2 separate regions of the Homo sapiens genome follow, and region 2 is linked to region 1. Evidence: promoter capture Hi-C in 16 types of primary human blood cells and fetal thymus (Javierre and others, 2016). All regions are on one chromosome and are shown on one strand. Each heading gives the region's core, a stretch centred on a gene start or on the middle of the fragment in contact. The rest is flanking DNA. Distances are from core to core; before and after follow the strand shown. Region 1 holds the start of SPATA32 (spermatogenesis associated 32). Region 2 overlaps HEXIM1 (HEXIM P-TEFb complex subunit 1).

Region 1 (5,842 bases), core at 1,539-4,038:
CTTTGTGAAGTTTCGTCTCTTAGATTGCTTAGTTTTAATTAGGAATGGATGCTGGATTTTGCCTAATGCTTTTTCTGCATTTATTGAGATGATCATATGGTTTTTCTTTAATATGATATTATATATGTTATACATAACATACGTTATAATACATTAACATATGAGTAATGTTATATTATTTGAGTGATAATTCTTTTATATTTTTATATTCTGTTTATGGTAAAATACATTGTTTTTTTTGAGACAGGGTCTCACTCTGTTGCCCAGGCTGGAGTTCAGTGGCGCAATTTCAGCAACCTCAACCTCCCTGTCTCAAGTGATCCTTCCACCTCACCTCTGGAGTAGCTGGGACTACACGTGTTCACCACCACCCCCAGCTAATTTTTGTATTTTTTGTAGAGATGGGTCTTGTTATATTGCCCAGGCTGGTCTTGAACTCCTGGGCTCAAGCTATCCACCTGCCGTGGCCTCCCAAAGTGCTAGATTATAGGTGTGAGCTACCATGCCCAGCTATAAATTTATTTTTTAAAATGTTAAATCAGCCTTGCGTTACTGGGATAAACCTCATTTGGTTGTGATATATTACCCTTTTTCTATGTTGTTGAATCTGATTGGCTTTTTTTCAGAATTTTCACATGCATATTCATGAGGGATATCGGTGTATAATTTTCTTTTCTTGTAATGTCTTTGTTAGGTTTTGATAGGGAGGATGGCTTCGGCCCGGGAGGCAGACGTTGCAGTGAGCCGAGATGGTGCCATTGCACTCCAGCCTGGGTGACAGAGCAAGACTCTGTCTCAAAAAAAAAAAAAAAAGGAGATGAGGTCTCAGTATGTTGCCCAGGCTGGTCTCAAACTCCTGAGCTCAAGCGATCTTCCCATCTTGGCCTCCCAGAGTGTTGGGATTACAGGCGTGAGCCACCATGCCTGGCCTAATTTCTTACCTCAAATTCATATCTTGTATGTCCAGACTCTTAAGTGTGGCTGCCACGGTTCTGCCTGTCTGACCCCTGTCTCCCTTTCTAGTCTGTCATCTCTCCATACCCCACTCTCCTCGCCCTATTCATCCTTCATCCTTTCACCCAAATGAGAAACCTGGGTCATTTGTGACTCCTCCTCCCTCCGCAGCTACTGCCCTCCTACCCCTGATGCTGTCCTCATCTCCCAGTACCAGAGCCAGCACACACCCATGACTTCCTACCCTTTGGCACTTGGTGCTGAGTGCTTTGCACATTCAGTCTTCATACCTACCCTATGCCCAGTTGGCCACGGCTCTCCTCTCACAGATGAGGAAACGTGTATGAGGTCATGCAGCTATTAAGAGCAGCACACGACCCAAAGGCAGGTCTGGCTGGCTCCAAACTCTGGGATGCTACTCACTGCACTGTCTTAAATCTCTTTAGTCTTCCAGTGGGACCACTGCAACTATGTCCCCCTCCAACCTGGATTTTCAATGACCTCAGAGTGAGCCTGCTACATCTCACTTGTCTCCGGTTACCCCCAGACTCCATGTGGCCTCTTGGTCTGATCTCTACCTTCATTTTTCATCTCTTGGCATCCAGCTTCCTGTCCCTCACCCTAAGCCGAAGCTACCCCCAGAGTACCGCAGGCCTTTCTGCACCCAGTGCCTTTGCAAATGCTATTTCTTATACCTGGAAAGCCTTCTTCTGGCAAAGTCCTACTCATGCCTGAAAGCCCAATTCAAATAATCAGTGTAATCCTCTCCATGACAGACCTGGCTGTCTAATCTACGTTTTACCTTACAGGCGTGAGCCACTGCACCCGACCTCTGGTTTTTTTTTTTTTTTTTTTGACAGGGTCTTGCTCTGTGGCCCAGGCTGGAGTGGCAGCATCATAGCTCACTGCAACTCCTGGGCTCCAGTGAGCCTCCCAGCTCAGCCTCCCAAGTAGCTGGGACTACAGGCTCATGCCGCCACACCTGTCTAATTTTAAACATTTCCTGTAGAGGACAAAGTCTCGCTATGTTGCCTAGGCTGATCTTGAACTCCTGGCCTCATGTGATCCTCCCACCTCTGCCTCCCGAAGTGTTGGGATTGCAGGCGTTGAGCCATCATGCCCACCTAATTTTTGACCGTTTTTAATGCTGGCCCATGCCCTTCTGGGAGAGAGGATCCCCAAAAGAAAGCCACCATTTCAGTGGGGGATCTGACGCCCCTATGGGAAGGGGAGACACAGGGCACTGGGGGCAAACATCTTTGCTCATTGGTTCAGAGAAGAGTACAAGGCATCAACGAAGCGCTCCGTAAAAATGTGCTGAAGACTGCCGCTCCTCCCTGCAAAGCCTCAAGCATCAAGGAGGGACAACTGGATGTGATTTTTTGGATCTGCAGTTCAGGATAATTCATGAGTCGTTTCCTGTGCACAAGGCCATTGCTCCTTCTGTGGTCTCAGAACCCCTTCAAGAACCACTGACTCTGCAGTCCCTACTCCAAGGCGCGCATGCGTGTCCGTGAGAGCACATGGGTGTGCACCGCGCAGGGGCTGAGGCTGGGAGCCGTAGTCAGGGGCACCGGGTGGGCTTTGGCGGCGGGTCGACCTGCCTTTCAGGTGCCGGGGGTTTGGGAGCAGGGGAACGGGCCCTGGGCGGATTCCTGACCGCCCCCTTCGCGCCCCTCCCCCTCTCACTTTCGCTTTCCCCGCCTGCCCCAACCCTCGCCCCCGGGCGCTCGGCCGCTCCCACCTGTCACCCCCATGCAGACCGAGGCTCTGTCCTGGAGGCGGGGAGCGGGCTGGTGGATGCTGCCTCTCCGCCTCCAGTGTGCTCTTTGGCTGAGGGACTGGTGGGCGCTGGAAATATTAGAGGCGCCGGTGCCTGTGATGTCGCCGCCTCTGTGACGTCCCCGCCGCGACCCCACAGGCAGGGAGCCGCATTTAGGTTTCGGGCGGGCGGACGGGGGACGGCCCGAGTGAGGCGTCCTCCGAAGGCTGCGGGCCCGAAGCCAGAACTCCTTCCTCTCCGAAGACCTCGGGGGTGGGGCTCGCGCTTCCGCAGCGGGCCTAGAGCGAGAGGCAGGCGGCAGGTAAGCCTGGCTGTGCTGGACAGGACTTGCACCCGCTCTGCACGCCAGCGGCTCAGGGCTGCCGCCCTTTTCGTGGTCCCAGGGCCCTTCCAAGAACCGGCTAAACCAACCCAAGCCGCGCGCACACACACTTGTGCACACAGGGAGTGTGGAGCCAGATTCGATAAGGCACCCCGTGTGCCCCAGCTCCATGACCAAGGAACTCAGCACCCCGTGTGCCCCAGCTCCATGACCAAGGAACTCAGCACCCCGTGTGCCCCAGCTCCATGACCAAGGAACTCAGCCCACAAAGGCATCCCTGGCCCCATGCAGGGCTCAGGAGGCAGCGGAAAGGGTTAAGAGTCCAGGCCTCAAGGACAGGAGGGGAGGGTGGAGGGCCTGTGGTGTGCATCCGGCATCCCTGGATGGTCAGGGCCCAGAACCCATCCCTATTTCCCTTCTGGTGGTAGGGGGCTGCCTAACTTGGGCAGTGGCACAAAGCATGCAGGCTTTGTTGTCCTCCTCCTCCACCCCTCAGCCTGGCATATTTTGGCGAGGGACTTCCCTGATGCCACCGGGCAAGGTATCTTGCCTAACTGGTCTGAATGACTAGCCCAGCGTTGGGACTAGAAGCAGCCACTGGGAGGAGTGGTGGGAAAGCAGCCCCACTCAAGGGCTGAAACAGTCCTTGTCCAAAACAAGGGGGACTTGAAAAGATCTCAGCAAGAAGGCAAAGAGAGGCAGCTGTTAGGGTCGTGAGGTTCAGCAGGCCGGCAGGCAAGAGAGAGGACACCGATGGCCTGGAAACATTTGTCATCACCCCAAACTTTATTGCTTACAAAGAGTTCTCTACAACCCAGACTCTGCAGTACCAAGGCTGCAGTTCTTTATGTGCTGGGGGCCGGGGCTCTCTCCCCGGGAGCAGTCTGACTCAATGTGGACAGCTGGACAAAGGCTGTCTTGGCAAGATGTGGGAATGAGCTTCTCCCACGGAGTCTCGGCGTCCCCTGCCCCAGGAGGTTGAGGCTAGCAGACACCCCCTGACGATTCACAGCTGATTTAATGCTACGTGAGTCCTGAGTAGCTCCCCTGGGAGAAGAGGCTAAGCTGGGGCAATGGGGAAGGGGGTGCTATTCTTAGAGAAATCTGGAAGAGGTTTGAGGAGTCACATGCATGTGGACAGCTCAAGACTGTGTCCCTTCACCCCATCTCCTGGCTTGCTATGCTCCTACAGTGTCACTGCCCTGCCCTGCCCTGCCAGAGGGCAGCCATGAAAGTGCTTTGAGGTCATCAGAGTGCAAAGTGCCGTCGGCAGTACCCTCTGGCCAGGGGCAGGGCAGGGTGAGTGTCAGTGTGATGCTGAGCTGTGCTCTGGGGAACCAGCACGCTGGACACTGATAGTGGGGCTGGGGCGCCGGAGCGTCTCTCTCTGCTGCTTTCCTTAGCACTGATCATGTCCATCCACAGACTGTTCCTGTCAGGCATATCCTGCATCACCCTTCACCTTTACAGATGAGGGAACTGAGTGCCAGCGAGTCTGGGGCAGTGCTGGGCCTGAAGGGGCTCGGGGCCTGCTGCTCTGGGGAAGAGTGGTAGCCAGCAGCAAAGGGGCACATGTCTGGGGACTGAGAACCACTTCACTTACACACCTTCTTTGGTCCTTGGCTGAACCAGAGGTCAACTCAGGACCTGTGTTGCAACAACCTGAAAAGTGTGGTGTATTCTACCAGGGAGCCTTCCCAGGGTCAGGCATTCTTTTCCCCTACACCCAAAAGGGGTGAGCTGGCCAGGTGAGGCCAGGCAAGGGGTTTAGAGGGCCCCCTTAACCTACGGGCGGGCATACCTGCTGACCTGGTTCTGCACTGAACCTGAGTTTGGGCCCTTACACACTTGACACTCTCACAGCAGCCTGGAGGGTGAGGGGCCGAGGGGCTCGCCCACCCCTTCTGACCCAGGCTGGAAGCTGCTCTCCCCTGTCTGCCAGCAAATGGTCACTGATCCAAGCGGGTCAGGCCAACTCGACTGGAGCAGGGCAGAGAAGATCCTGTTTGTTTCCCGAGGTAACTCCTGCCATCCTCCTCTGTCTCTTCACGTGGCGGAGTGTTTTCTCAGCAGGGTGGGGCAGGGCTCAGGTGTGAAATCCTGGGAGGCATTCTGCTTGCCCCCACCTTGCTGCTGCGAGGCCCTGGTCCCACTGCTGAGCCGGGGGCTGGCAGATCCCTGGGAACGGCTGAGCCTGTGTTTCAGGGCAGCATCGTGCACCGAGCAGGAAGGCTGCTTCCGGCAGTGTGGAGCCGGCGGTGGAGGGCAGGGTTAGGGCCTGTTCTCCAGCTGGCCATGCTTGACCCTCCAGCTCCAGGCGAAGCTGCCATCAGGGGCCAGTGTGCACTGCAGGTCGATGCCCGAGTCTGGCACCTCCATGTCGTAGCGAACAGGCTGCCCGTCTTTGGTGACCAAGCTGAAGGCTGCAGCTGGGATCTAAGGGTGGAGCAAACCAGTGGGCTGAGATCATGGCATAGGGCTCAAGCCATGTAGAAAGGTAAAGACATCTCCTTCCAGCCAGACCGGCAGCCCTAAGGGCACTGCCTGTCTGTCATTCCACGGGACTCAGAGAATCCCACCCGGCTCAAGTGTAGGTCTGGAGGACCTCTTTGTCACCACTGCCAGCCTTGCTTTGAGGCCCTGGGAAATGCTTTGAGGTCCTGGGGGACGTTGAAGGCCAATTCCAAGTATTCCCTAGAGTGCCATTCTACTTCTTTGAAAGCTTTCCTCCTGGAGGGTGGGGCCAGCTGCATTGGCTTCTGGGACTCTGCCCGTCAGAGTGT
Region 2 (5,842 bases), core at 47-2,546, 110 kb before region 1:
GAGCCAAAGGGGAGATGAGTTTGTCTGTCCTCTGCTGAGGCTACGGCCGGGCCTAGGGAACTGGGAGCTTGGGTGGAAGCGACACCCGTGGAAGTGGGAGGAGGTGGCGCCGGGACTTTAACCCCTTGTGGGCTCTGCGGCAGGGGATTTAACCCTTTGTGGATCTGGCCCCTCGGAGGCAGCGTCATCGGTAGTTTTAACCCCTTCGGGGCTGGGTTTCACGCACTGGACTTACCCTCATCACCTTGCTCACCAACTCCTTTATTGGGGTGCTCCGCTTGGAGGTTTGAGGCCCACCTCCGCCCATTACGTACTGTTCCTGCCGCTGCACCCCCTTGGACCCGCTAGCTGGCCGCACTGTGGGCGCTTAACCCTTTACTGACTTGAGCTCCCCAGATTGCAGTTGGAGTTTGCTGATAGAAGGACTAGCTAAAGGCGTCACTGCAGGAATTACAAACTGAAGAGGACTCTGTTGGACTGTTTTTTTTTTCTTTTTCTTTTTTTTAAGAAAAACCCATTTTTTTCCTTAAGGACTTACTAGCCAAAATTTCTTAAACTTCGAGGACTCTACTAGCCATGGCCGAGCCATTCTTGTCAGAATATCAACACCAGCCTCAAACTAGCAACTGTACAGGTGCTGCTGCTGTCCAGGAAGAGCTGAACCCTGAGCGCCCCCCAGGCGCGGAGGAGCGGGTGCCCGAGGAGGACAGTAGGTGGCAATCGAGAGCGTTCCCCCAGTTGGGTGGCCGTCCGGGGCCGGAGGGGGAAGGGAGCCTGGAATCCCAACCACCTCCCTTGCAGACCCAGGCCTGTCCAGAATCTAGCTGCCTGAGAGAGGGCGAGAAGGGCCAGAATGGGGACGACTCGTCCGCTGGCGGCGACTTCCCGCCGCCGGCAGAAGTGGAACCGACGCCCGAGGCCGAGCTGCTCGCCCAGCCTTGTCATGACTCCGAGGCCAGTAAGTTGGGGGCTCCTGCCGCAGGGGGCGAAGAGGAGTGGGGACAGCAGCAGAGACAGCTGGGGAAGAAAAAACATAGGAGACGCCCGTCCAAGAAGAAGCGGCATTGGAAACCGTACTACAAGCTGACCTGGGAAGAGAAGAAAAAGTTCGACGAGAAACAGAGCCTTCGAGCTTCAAGGATCCGAGCCGAGATGTTCGCCAAGGGCCAGCCGGTCGCGCCCTATAACACCACGCAGTTCCTCATGGATGATCACGACCAGGAGGAGCCGGATCTCAAAACCGGCCTGTACTCCAAGCGGGCCGCCGCCAAATCCGACGACACCAGCGATGACGACTTCATGGAAGAAGGGGGTGAGGAGGATGGGGGCAGCGATGGGATGGGAGGGGACGGCAGCGAGTTTCTGCAGCGGGACTTCTCGGAGACGTACGAGCGGTACCACACGGAGAGCCTGCAGAACATGAGCAAGCAGGAGCTCATCAAGGAGTACCTGGAACTGGAGAAGTGCCTCTCGCGCATGGAGGACGAGAACAACCGGCTGCGGCTGGAGAGCAAGCGGCTGGGTGGCGACGACGCGCGTGTGCGGGAGCTGGAGCTGGAGCTGGACCGGCTGCGCGCCGAGAACCTCCAGCTGCTGACCGAGAACGAACTGCACCGGCAGCAGGAGCGAGCGCCGCTTTCCAAGTTTGGAGACTAGACTGAAACTTTTTTGGGGGAGGGGGCAAAGGGGACTTTTTACAGTGATGGAATGTAACATTATATACATGTGTATATAAGACAGTGGACCTTTTTATGACACATAATCAGAAGAGAAATCCCCCTGGCTTTGGTTTCGTAAATTTAGCTATATGTAGCTTGCGTGCTTTCTCCTGTTCTTTTAATTATGTGAAACTGAAGAGTTGCTTTTCTTGTTTTCCTTTTTAGAAGTTTTTTTCCTTAATGTGAAAGTAATTTGACCAAGTTATAATGCATTTTTGTTTTTAACAAATCCCCTCCTTAAACGGAGCTATAAGGTGGCCAAATCTGAGAACAATTAAATTCATTTTAGTTATAATAAATTTAATATTTGTAAATGTAACATAGTTTCAGTGTGATTTCTAGAGCTAATTCAAAATAGTATTGATATATTTTATGTGACTGCATTTTTGGGGAGGGGTACCGAAATCGTTAAATTTGTCAGTTTGCAAAAATATCAATCTTTAATGGGAGAATTTTCAATTTGCCAATTTTTTCCTTGAATGGGTTTAAGTATGCTACAATATACAGTTCAGGCAAAATTTAAGATGTAATTATCTTCAATACTTAAGTGTGCTTGCTTTCTAGTGCCTTGGTTTTCTTTCTTGATGCTGGAAAAATAAACAAACCGGTATTGAGTGTTTAGGCGAGTGGAAAGTGGCTACAATCCAAAATTTTAAATTTAACTCTGCCTCGGCCATTCAAAAGTCTAATAACAAAAAATGTAAACCTAATTTGGCAGTTTGTTAGGTTAGACAACTGACAGCCTCATTTCATTCCTACAAGTTGGTTTTCAGTAATCTCTTCCTTCCCCCCAGTAAGGCTGGAAGAGGCTCTTGGCAAACTTCTTAGTGCAAGCAATGGTTAGATTAATTTGTGAGGCAGCTCTTTAAGACGTTCAGAGGTAAGAAATACTGGATTTATAAAGCAAATGGCTGTTTGGGGGATTCCAAGGATTTACCTAATTGTCCAATTCTACGTGCTCTCTATACCAAAACAAAAAAAAAAAGCTATCCACCTTTCCATGTGGGTCAAACTAAAATTAGAAATGTCCCCTCACTGCAGATCAAATGTAAAGCTTCCAGTTAAGGAGCTAAATGAGGTCCTCAGCTGAATGAGGAACCCTGTACATCCCCTTGCACAGCCCTATTCTAAATCGCTTAAACTATGCTGATAGCTGCTTAGGTTCTTGAGTAGTTCTGCTCTTAAACGTAGGGAGGCCCTGAGAACTAAATTTTGCCCCAAAATAAAAACAGAAATTATGAGATTGCCTCCTGTCATTTTGGTTAACCCAGTCCTTCACCTGCCCTGTGTCAGTGTCTTCTGAGGGCAATTGCGTTGCTCAAATCACTAGCACAGAGGTTCCTTAATTTGGGGCCTTAGAAACCATTGTGGGCCTTGGGGTCCATGAACCCCATGAAATTATTTGTAGACTTGTATGTACATTTTTCTGGGGAGAAGGTTCAAGAGATTCATAAGATTGTCAAACTCCTTGAAGGTTCAGAACCTCTGCAGGGAAGGGGGAAGAAAACCCTCCCATTAGGAAGCATGCTTTTGCAGTTAAATGGCGATGGTGGAGGTGATAGGGACTTCAAGAGTAAAATGCACCTTGTATTGCATAAGAAGCATACACAAATCAATAAATCAAGGGAGATTATACCAGTAGGACTGAATCAGGGCCTTCAAAGCTGGACTGAGTTGGTCCTGTTCTGGCACATATGGTCCACTGGAGACAATGTATGATTGAGTTTTTCTTTGGTCTAAAAATTATATTAAACATTTATTTTGAAATAGTTTTCTTCGTGTTTTTTTCTTCTGCTATGACGTCATGCAGCAGCCCCAGAAAAACAGCTGCTTGGAAAGGCAGCAACAGTGCCCTCTGGCTTTACAGTGCAGAGCTGAAGCCTCATTTTGACTGAACTGTAAGATGCAGCAGTGATTATCTCTGATATTAGACCCTTTTTCTTTATTTTTTTTTTTTTTTGAGACGGAGTTTCGCTCTTGTTGCCCAGGCTGGAGTGCAATGGTGCAATCTTGGCTCACCGCAACCTCTGCCTCCCAGGTTCAAGCGATTCTCCTGCCTCAGCCTCCCTAGTAGCTGGGATTACAGGCATGTGCCACCACCCCCAGCTAATTTTGTATTTTTAGTAGAGACGTAGTTTCTCCATGTTGGTCAGGGTGCTCTCGAACTCACGACCTCAGGTGATCCGCCCGCCTCGGCCTCCCAAAGTGCTGGGATTACAGGCATGAGCCACTGCGCCCAGCCCAGACCCTCTTCTTAAAGAGGGATTCAGCTATGAAAATCTTATTTCCCCTAGTATTAGAAAAATGATATTTAGAAAATGAATCTTGGAAAGACTATAAATGCATTTATCATCAGAAAAAGTATGTTTTAGAAGACAAATTCAGCCCAGTCTTCAAATATACAGATATCTAGGCTGGGCACAGTGGCTCATGCCTGTAATCCCAGCACTTTGGGAGGCTGAGGTGGGCAGATCACCTGAGGTCAGGAGTTAAGAGACCAGCCTGACCAACATACAGAAGCCCCGTCTCTACTAAAAATACAAAAATTAGCCGGGTGTGGTGGCACATGCCTGTAATCCCAGCTACTCGGGAGGCTGAGGCAGCAGAATCGTTTGAACCCGGGAGGTGGAGGTTGCAGTGAGAGGAGATCGCGCCATTGCACTCCAGCCTAGGCAAGAAGAGCGAAACTGTCTCAAAAATATATATATACACAAATATCTAATTACAAATAACTCTCATACATCAATTTACCTTAAGCTATGCAAGTATGTCTGAATTTTGCTTTCAAAGGCACTAGCATTTTACCTTTTTTTTTGCATTTATATTCTCACAATGATGAGGTTTATTCAAAATTTCAGTTTTAACACTTTCTATACTTTTTTTTTTTTTTTGAGACGGAGTCTCACTCTGTCGCCAGGCTGGAGTGCAGTAGCGTGATTTCGGCTCACTGCAACCTCAGCCTCCTGGGTTCAACCGATTCTCCTGCCTCAGCCTCCCGAGTAGCTGGGATTACAGGTGCACGCCACTGCAACTGGCTAATTTTTCTATTTTTAGTAGAGACGGGGTCTCGCCATGGTTGCCAGGCTGGTCTCGAACTCCTGACTTCAAGTGATCCGCCCGTCTCAGCCTCCCAAAGTGTTGGCAATATAGGCATAAGCCACCGCGCCTGGCTTTTTTTTTTTTTTTTTTTTGAGATGGGTCTTGCTCTGTTGCCTAGGCTGGAGTGCAGTGTCGCGATCTGGACTTACGGCAACCTCCACTTCCCAGGCTAAAGCGATCCTCCCACTGCAGCCTCCTGAGTAGCTGGTACTTGCCACCACGCCTGGCTATTTTTTTTTTTTTTTTTTTTTTTTTGGAGAGACAGGGTTTCACCCTGTTGCACAGGCTGGTCTCAAACTCCTGGGCTCAAACTCCTGGGCTCAAGCAATGCGCCCTCCTCCGCCTCCCAAAATTACAGTTGTGAGCCACCAAGCCCAGCCTATTCCTACACTTTTCTTTTTTTTGGGGGGGGGGTGAGGGATGGAGTCTTGCTCTGTCGCCCAGGCTGGAGTGCAGTGGCGCGATCTCGGCTCACTGCAAGTTCCGCCTCTCAGGTTCATGCCATTCTCCTGCCTCAGCCTCTCAAGTAGCTGGGACTACAGGCACCCGCCACCACGCTCAGCTAATTTTTTTTTTGTAGTTTTAGTAGAGACGGGGTTTCACCGTGTTAGCCAGGATGATCTCGATCTCCTGACCTCGTGATCCACCTGCCTCGGCCTCCCAAAGTGCTGGGATGATGGGTGTGAGCCACCACACCCGGCCTCCTATTTCTTCACTTTCTATTGAAACATTTAACTAGCATATTGCTCTCCTGGCAGAGAAAACAATTAGTTACCTATATTTTAATTTAAAAAAAAAAAGGTTGGGCCGGGCGTGGTGGTTCATGCCTATAATCTCAGCACTTTGGGAGGCTGAGGTGGGTGGATCTCTTGAGATCTGGAGTTAAGAGACCAGCCTGACCAATATGGAGAAACCTCATCTCTACTAAAAATACAAAATACAAAATTAGCCGAGCATGGTGGCAGGTGCCTGTAGTCCCAGCTACTTGAGAGGCTGAGGCAGGAGAATGGCATGAACCCGGGATG

The links. Contacts are between HindIII fragments. The CHiCAGO score rates a contact against its expected background, and 5 or more counts as called.
Region 2: a contact is called between a fragment that was not itself captured here and the fragment with the promoter of SPATA32 in region 1, in 7 of 17 cell types (neutrophils, M1 macrophages, M0 macrophages and 4 more). The highest score is 7.3, in neutrophils.

Annotation. Positions count from the first base shown.
Region 1 is chr17:45,259,306-45,265,147 of GRCh38, forward strand. SPATA32 (spermatogenesis associated 32) reads right to left here and starts at 2,789. Exons shown (of 5, transcript NM_152343.3): 1 at 2,699-2,789. The coding sequence starts at 2,711. It overlaps MAP3K14 (mitogen-activated protein kinase kinase kinase 14), which reads right to left. Exons shown (of 16, transcript NM_003954.5): 16 at 3,814-5,495. The coding sequence ends at 5,331. The region is part of intron 2 of MAP3K14-AS1 (MAP3K14 antisense RNA 1); the gene reads left to right. RefSeq lists silencers at 2,433-2,552, 2,623-2,672 and enhancers at 2,621-3,226, 2,703-2,792, 3,227-3,830. The HindIII fragment of the contact is 9,151 bases long and covers 1-5,779 here.
Region 2 is chr17:45,148,615-45,154,456 of GRCh38, forward strand. It overlaps HEXIM1 (HEXIM P-TEFb complex subunit 1), which reads left to right. Exons shown (of 1, transcript NM_006460.3): 1 at 1-3,485. The coding sequence starts at 577. The coding sequence ends at 1,656. HEXIM2-AS1 (HEXIM2 antisense RNA 1) reads right to left here. Exons shown (of 3, transcript NR_186789.1): 3 at 1,048-2,305. Among named protein-coding and RNA genes, the nearest start is that of HEXIM1, 3.1 kb to the left of the region's middle. RefSeq lists enhancers at 250-299, 350-399, 450-559, 964-1,519, 1,190-1,249. The HindIII fragment of the contact is 2,947 bases long and covers 1-2,770 here.